Regions from separate parts of the Homo sapiens genome. Here regions 1 and 2 are each linked to region 3. Evidence: promoter capture Hi-C in human tissues and cell types (Jung and others, 2019). All regions are on one chromosome and are shown on one strand. Each heading gives the region's core, a stretch centred on a gene start or on the middle of the fragment in contact. The rest is flanking DNA. Distances are from core to core; before and after follow the strand shown.

The links. Contacts are between HindIII fragments. The study calls those that stand out against the background at their distance.
Region 1: a contact is called between a fragment that was not itself captured here and the fragment with the promoter of SCD5 in region 3, in 1 of the 25 tissues and cell types used here (lymphoblastoid cells).
Region 2: a fragment that was not itself captured here is called in contact with the fragment with the promoter of SCD5 in region 3 in 1 of the 25 tissues and cell types used here (dorsolateral prefrontal cortex).

The regions. Positions count from the first base shown.
Region 1 is chr4:83,279,146-83,281,845 of GRCh38, forward strand. All of the region lies in intron 1 of COQ2 (coenzyme Q2, polyprenyltransferase), which reads right to left. Among named protein-coding and RNA genes, the nearest start is that of COQ2, 4.3 kb to the right of the region's middle. The HindIII fragment of the contact is 3,977 bases long and covers 1-2,700 here.
Region 2 is chr4:82,502,073-82,504,772 of GRCh38, forward strand. It overlaps TMEM150C (transmembrane protein 150C), which reads right to left. Exons shown (of 8, transcript NM_001080506.3): 2 at 2,506-2,595; 3 at 987-1,040; 4 at 823-855; 5 at 655-722. The coding sequence starts at 2,585. Among named protein-coding and RNA genes, the nearest start is that of TMEM150C, 59 kb to the right of the region's middle. The HindIII fragment of the contact is 8,691 bases long and covers 1-2,700 here.
Region 3 is chr4:82,797,502-82,800,201 of GRCh38, forward strand. SCD5 (stearoyl-CoA desaturase 5) reads right to left here and starts at 1,295. Exons shown (of 5, transcript NM_001037582.3): 1 at 805-1,295. The coding sequence starts at 1,036. RefSeq lists enhancers at 1-42, 1,019-1,736, 1,737-2,453 and silencers at 851-900, 1,231-1,650. The HindIII fragment of the contact is 23,697 bases long and covers 1-2,700 here.

The sequences.
Region 1 (2,700 bases), core at 1-2,500, 480 kb after region 3:
AAATTTAAGTCAGTTAACTGTTTTCATTTGTTTAAACATCACATACCAAAGAAATAAAGAACACTATAAGTCAAAAAAACAAATGACAAAACTGAGAAAATAAATTTGCAACTCAAATCACAAAGGACCCCTTACTACGCAGAGTGCCTAGAAGAAAGAGATCAACAGTCCAATTAAAAAAGACAAAACATAATAAAAATTCACATAAAAAGAAATACAAATGGCTCTTATACATATGAAAAGATACTCAACTTTGAGAAACACATATGAAAACTAAATTGAGATAAAAATTTTCACCTATCACTGGCAAAACCCTACATCTGACAACACACTCTAGGGAGTTGAATACTCTTATGTATTTCTAATGAGGTTACAAAATGGCCCTACCTTTGTGAAGGACAACTTAAAAATTGTTTATTGTGTGTTTATATGTGTATATAAATATATATATATATACGTACCTACATATAAAACATTCATGCGTCAATGTTAATATGCTCAAAGACTGTCAGGAAGAACACACTAGAAACATATAATAATGGTTGCTTCTGAGTAGGGGAACTGCATGGACAGGAGACAGGAGTAAGAGACTTGCCTTTCACTCTATACCCTGGCACCTTCTGAATATTGTATCATATACACACATTACCTACTCAAAAAAGTTAGCAAAATTTCCTTTACCATTGTTAGTACAATACACTTAGACGGTCTAGTCTTTTTTTTTTTTTTTTTTGAGACAGCATCTCACTCTGTCACCCAAGCTGGCGTACAATGGCATAATCGTAGCTCACTGTGGCTTCAAACTCCTGAGCTCAAGTGATCCTCCTGCCTCCGCCTCCCCAGTAGCTGGAACTACAGGTGCAAGCCACCATGCCCAGGGAATTATGTTGCCCAGGCTAGTTGCAAACTCTTGGCCTCAAGTAATCGTCCCACCTTGGCCTCCCAAAGTGCTGGGATTTTAAGTGTTAGTTTTTTTGTTATTTTGAACTGAGTACTTTGCAGCTACATGTACAAATGGGGTTAGTTCTTAGTACTTAACCAATAAACTAGAGGAAATTAAGATAAAAGCAAATAGATTATATAAAAGACTTCAAATATGAACTTTAATATTCTACTTCTAAAAGAAAGTCTTTCAACTGATGTTTGGATATGCTGCCTATTAGATAAATTCTGAGCTTTCTTTCCCTATAGAGGGATACAAGAGAAAAGGGATTTGGGGCTAAAGAAAGTTCAGATCCTGAAGAAAAATGGTCAAATGACTAAAGTCCCTGTAATCATGTTTAAGCTTCACTAAGTTTAAGCTTTATTCATTTAGACATATTTATGAAGCATATACTCTGTGCCAGAACTATGCTAAGAACTGGGAATACAATGGTGGCTAAGAGAAAGGGGGCTTCTGCCTTCATGCAGCTCATAAATCAAAAGAAAGAAATACAGTTAAATAAGCAATAACAATAAAAGATCAATCCAACAACAGGACAAGCACAGGGTCCTGCAAAGGCATAAAACAAAACTATCTAAGTTAGTTAGCTAGTTTTAGGAGGAGGGAGAGAGGAATCAGAGGGTCTTTTCCAAAGGGGATCTAAATTTACACAACAGAGAAGTCAAGGAGAAGCCTCAAGCTAAAACCTTGAGAAATGGTCAGTCCAGACCTGAATTCAGGTTGTCCTGGACAGACTCATACTTGGTGCACTCCACAGTAACAATGGCTAATATTTACGGAGTGCTCACAAAGCATCAGGCAGTGTTCTAAATGCTTTATATGTCTAAACTTATTTAATCTTCAATGACATCTTTATATTAAACTTATTTATTTATATATTTACATTAGAGACAGGGTCTCGCTCTCTTGCCGAGGCTGGAGTGCAGTAACAAGGTCATAGTTCACTACAGCTTCTGACTTCCAGGCTCAAGCAATACTTCCACCTCAGCCTCCCAAGTAACATCTTTACATAGTAGGTACTGTTAATAACCCTATCTTACAGATGAGGAAACAGATAAACAGAGTGGTTTAAGTAAAACACAGTAGGTTTAACTACTTTCTTTACCCTGGAGCTATGAGTATAGTTCACAAGGGACAGAGGAGTAGCTGATCCTATCCTCCTAGGCTAGAGAAGAGAGAATACCACTTCACAGCTATTATTTCCTGGTACAATTAGAACAGAAGGTTCCACTAAAAAGAAAAAAATTCTAGACAGAAAGACGTGTAACCACTTATAGTGTTTTCTGTCAGGAACAAAACTTCCTTGGCCAAAAATCTGTATTAAAAGTACCGTATTCACTTACTGATAGGAATCTGTAGAGCTCCCCTACAGATGACAAGGGTTCCTACAGTGAAGGGGAAAGTAAGAAGACTTCTCAGTTCTATGTCTGCCACTTGTAAGTTGAGTGACACTAGACAGTAAAGTATCTTAAGGCTTAAGTCTTTGTTTCATCTGTAAATGAGGGAAGAGAACAGCTACCTCACAGAGTCGTTAAGAGATGACAATATTAATGATGTTATGACAACCGTAATAACAGATACATGGCACTTACTGTACCAGGTGGTTTCACAGAACACTTTTGACTCTCACAACAAGCCTATTCGATAGGCACTATTTTTATTACAACCATTTTACAAATACAGAAACTGACGCAGAGAGGGAGTAATTGTGCCCAAGACCACACAGGTAAAAAAAGGCTAAGGTGGTATTCCAACCC
Region 2 (2,700 bases), core at 57-2,556, 300 kb before region 3:
AGTGCATGGCTGGTTCCCACCATCTCTGGAGGACTATGCAGGGTCATGGACGCACTCACAGAGGGACAGAATATTACAGGAGGGTCTTGGGCCCCAAAGAAAAAGGAACTGGGGCTAGATATGAGTACTAAAGGTTTCTTCTTTTTAAGCTTACTTCTCCATTTGCCAGCTTACTATGTCTATAGGCACAGGAGAGAGTGTAATCCTAATGCTGATGTTGACCTTTAGGTTTAAAGACAGTATCTACACACATCAACAAATATCACAAAGCCCATGCATTTTTTTCATCTTTGCTAGTGAAGGAATAAATAAAGCATTCTTTTCAAAGCAAATGTATTATACAATATTACATTCTCATACAGGATTTTATATCATGAAATATATTATTTTATGCAGCAAAATAGATCAAGTCAAGAGTATCTGAAATGATAAAGATGGTAAAGGGAAGAGAAAATGTAAGGACAGCAGGGTGAACGTAAATGGATGTACGAGAGAAAAAGACCTTTAAGACAAAGAGCTGGCTTCAGCATATTGACATCGTATGATACTAAATGATCAAATAAGCCCCCCATTGTTTTGACAAGGGTTTGGGAGAATTTAAAATACAAAAGAAATGTACCAAAGCACATAAAGCGTTCTTTACCCTCTTCTTACCTAGGAAGGCTGCCATGTTCATAACTTGACTAAACACACAGCTTGCAGGAGGATCATCACCTGCAATGCTTGAAAAAGATGAAATGTTTTATAGTTACTATATCAAAATCTATAATCCTCCTAACTTTTCCTACGGTCCCACAGGACAGAAGAGAATTGCTGGGTTACCTTATATATGGTGCATGCTTCACACCAGGTTTCCTGGATAATAAAAAAAAAAAACACAGAAGCTCAGGTTAAAGCACTGTCATTTGTGCAGTTTAACCTTCCCAGTGGGAAAGTTTTTGCTAAATCTCTTGATGAACAACGAATTACCCACAGATAAACTTTACCTTTCAGCTGAATTTAATGGTAAAATTTTGTCATCTTCCACAGCTATGAAGTATCTATCAAAAAAGAATAAGTTTATAGAACAAAGAAATTGGAAAAAAGAATCATTTGTTTCCCAGTTTTATTAAACTAACTGCACTAATTCATATTCATTTTTTCTAACTGAGAAATGCTCTTTTACAATTCTTTACCCATAGATCATCTAGTTCTTTGAAGCTCAAATGTCATTATTAGTAATATTTCCTTAATTTTCAAAACATCCCCAAAGTAATGGCCATGCTTATAAACTGGAAACTAGAAAACAAGGAAATAGAACTTACAACTTTGAGCAAACTAAAATTAGGGTTCAGTTTCTAACTTCTCGGGAATATGTGTCCTACCTTTCCTAACAAACTTTGAGAAACTAAAATAATTTTCTTAAAGTGAATATTACCTAAAATAAGCAAGTGTGGGAACGTTCTGTGGTAAGCCAGGACTTCCAATGTAATGATATTCATTTTATAAACATATCAGGCCGGGCGCAGTGGCTCACGCCTGTAATCCCAGCACTTTGGGAGGCCGAGGCGGGCAGATCACGAGGTCAGGAGATCGAGACCATCCTGGCTAACATGGTGAAACCCCGACTCTACTAAAAATACAAAAAATTAACTGGGTGTGGTGGTGGGCGCCTGTAGTCCCATCTACTTGGGAGGCTGAGGCGGGAGAATGGCGTGAACCCAGGAGGCAGAGCTTGCAGTGAGCCAAGATCATGCCACTGCACTTCAGCCTGGCAACAGAGCAAGACTCCGTCTCAAAAAAAAAACAAAAACAAAAAACAAAAAACAAAAACATATCAGACCCAATCATGAATAACTGGACTATGAACTGGACTGCAGACGGAACCCATGGCATGTTAGTGTCAAATTCGAAAATCTTGCAAATAATTAATTCATATAACCTGTTTACAAAATGTTCATTACAACAAGAACACATGAACACAAAATAAACTAGTATTCTTCACCACCGGCTTTGCATAATTATTACTCACTCTTGTTACTTACTTTGGTTAATAGAAAATGGGAAAAGAAATGAGGACTTTAGCAAGGTTGAATTAGTAAAATATATTATTTTCAAGTATTTATAAATACAGTCATAAAGATATGCCATCTACTATTTTTTGGGGGGGTGGGGACAGTCTTGCTCTCTTGCCCAGTCTGGAGTGCAGTGGCGCAATCTCAGCTCAATGCAACCTCTGCCTCCAGGGTTCAAGCGATTCTTGTGCCTCAGCCCCCCGAGTAGCTGGGATTACAGGCGTGTGCCATCACACCCGGCTAACTTCTGTATTTTTAGTAGAGACAGGGTTTCCCCATGTTGGCAAGGGTCTCAAACTCCTGACCTCAAGTGATCTGCCTGACTCGGCCTCCCAAAGTGCTGAGATTACAGGCATGAGCCACCGTGCCCGGCTGCCATATACTATTAAGGTTTACATTTGTATCTACATTGCACCTGAATCCTTAAATAATTAAATGAGCAAATACTCACACTATCCACAATCCAGCTGAAGTAAACAAAGTAAATACAAGAGGTAGGAACATCCATACGCTGCATTTCTTCCCATCCATGCCTGTACCACTGAAATAAAATAAACACGTATTAATAATTAAGGCAAAACATTTACTTCACTCTTTCAAGATAGAAAGTTTAGTCTAACTGGGCCAAGCACGGTGGCTTACACCT
Region 3 (2,700 bases), core at 45-2,544:
CCTTCCCTACTGGCAGGAGTGGGGGTGCACGGAAGGAGGGTACCAGGAGAGCCACAGGTTCCCACTGGCCACATGGGAACAGGGTTTGGAGAAGGCTCTGCACAGCCACAGTCGGAGCTTCGTGCTAGGGTCAGACCGCTCTCGCCATGGGATCGGTTTGCTCACCGAGAAACTTCACCGAGAACTGCAAATGGGCATAGAAGATTGCGGAGGGGGCAGGGACAGGGGCCTTGGAGAGGCAAGAGGGGAACCGGTATCTTCCATCTGGTGCGCGTAAACCAAGACTCTATCCTGTGCCGGGTCTCTCCTCCCCGGTCCAACTCCCTTACTTGTCCTCATCTCTGTCCCCAAGGTCCGTGACCCGCGGAGGTGATGGGGGGGATAGGAGAGCCCCAGGGACCGCAGAGGTGACACAATCGCCCGCCCGTCCTCCCTCGCTGGGAGCCGATTCAGCCTGTGCCGAGCCTCTCCCTTCGCGCGCCTCTGCGCACAGCGGTGGCACCGCAGGACTCCGGGTCCCCCCCGGCTCTCCATCGGGAAGCCGGCAAATGCGCTTCCTCAGGCAGACCGCGGCGGGGTGGGGGCGGGGGGGGGGCGGAAGTTGAAATACTGGGACAGAAACACCTGCCCGTCCCAAGGGACGGAAAACTGGATGCCAAGGGGGCCGCGGCGCGCAGCGGGAGGCGAGGGGAGACCGGGGGTCGCTGCGCACCGCCCGCAGCCGAGGGGCGAGCGGCGACCTCGCGCGCCCCAGCGCGGCCTGGCCACGGAGGCCGGGGCGCAGGGGGCGCCGGCGGGACTTACCCCAGAGCAGAGTGAGTGGCTTGGCTTTGGGGATGAGCACCAGGGAGTACACGGCCCCCAAGTGGAGCAAGCTCATCAGGACGACATTCCTCCAGACGATGTTCTGCCGCTGCCCGCGCGCGCCTGGCCTCTCCGGGCCGCCGCCGCCCTCAGAGCTTTCGAGCCCGGCACGGATTTCTTCCTTGGCGTCGCAGAAAGGGATCTTCCCCGCGTCGGTGGCCGGGCCTGGCATGGCTGGGCGAGGTGGGCGCCCGCAGCAGCGGCAGGCAGGCAGGCGCTCTGCCCGAGCGGAGCTCGAGGGTGGGGGCGGGGGCTTCTGCCTTTTAGGGGGGAATTCTCCGCACGTCCAGTCCCCTCCTTCCAGCCCTTCTCCCGGGCTCCTGCGCTCTTCCCCAGGGTCTTAGCGTGGCCTAGGGATGCAGATCTTGGCGGCCGGCGTCTGTTGCTGGCGTATCCCCCATATGGCTGCCCGGGCTGAACTCGGCCGCGAGAAAGAGGAGGCGCGCGCGGGGCGGGAGGGGCGCGCGGCCGGGGAGGAGGAGCTGTGAAAATGGAACGGGGCCGGCGACGCTGGAGGGAGCGCTCCGAAGGAGCGCGGAAGAAAGCCCTGCTTAGCTACAGCCAATCAGGAGCGCCCGTGCGGCGCTTATAGACAAAGGCGCCCCCCTTTCGGCTTTTCGGGGCCGAACTGGGGAGCCCGCTGGGCGGGAGTTGGCCGCCTCCGCCCGGGGGCGGGTGGAAGGTGGCTCCCGGGGCAGGGAGCCTGCAGGGCGGCTCACAGCGCTTCTGCTCTTGTGTGTGTGTGACCCCCAAAATGCCTTTTATGGTATTTTTCCAGTCCCCCCCCCAAAAAAAAACTTCCCGAAACTGTCATCCCTTTGAGAAGCCTTTTATTTCTTCTCAAGCCTCAGGCCACCTGGGTTGGAGAATTTTAAATACTTGCTTGGAGTCGCGACCCTAGTTAAGGCCAGACCCACGATGAGAATCAGAAGTCCCTCAATCTGCCAGTTAGTAGGGCTCCTCGGGCCAGGGGAGGGTTGGAAGGCAGCTGCTCGTTCTTAATTAGGCAGCTGTGGATTACCCAGGCACACAGTAAGTGCTCAGTTGGTGCTTGTGAGGTGATGCACAGATGATTTGGGCCAGTTCGCTGCCCACCCTTTGCCCATCCGCCGCGCCACTCTGTTTATGGTCAATTCTAGCTAATCAGCGCACTTCTGCAACGCCTCCTTAGCTCTCAGTGAGGAACACTACCCTGAAATCAACACCATTGAGAATCGGGCTTTACAAAAAAATCACCCAGAATGTTCCAAGGAAAATTAACCTGTGAAAGATTTGTGTCTGCCCACTTCTCTCCTAGAGCTGATGGCTTAAGAGCTCTCCAGAGAGGACCCTAGTTGCACAGAAAATGGAGGGAGGATTGAGCTGGAAGTGTCTGAAGCAGGTGTGACCGCAATTGCGGGCAGGCAGCAGAAGTAAAAGGGCTCGGGACAGCATCTCTGAGTTCTAGTTTTAACTGGCTGGAACCCAGCCCAACTCTCTGGGCACGGATTTCCTTACCTGAGAAGCAGAACTAGTTTCTACTCTTCCTTCCAGCTTCCATATTCCATGAATGTGAGTTCGAAGGGGCGCCATTATATTGACCAAAACCAGCTGATTTTTAGATTAACCGTTGTTAGGAATCATTTCCAGGATTTCAAGAGAGGCAAAAAAATTTAAAAGACTGACTGCATGAAAGGGCCATGCATAAGCATCTTATTGTTAGCAGACCTGAGCCAGTCCTAGCAGCCAGACAAAACAATGCCTGATTTAAGCTAAAGCAAGGTATGTGGCACTTGTGGAATCTAGGCCACTGAGTCAGTGTTACTGTGTTGCTTCAGACGGAGCTGAAATTATAGA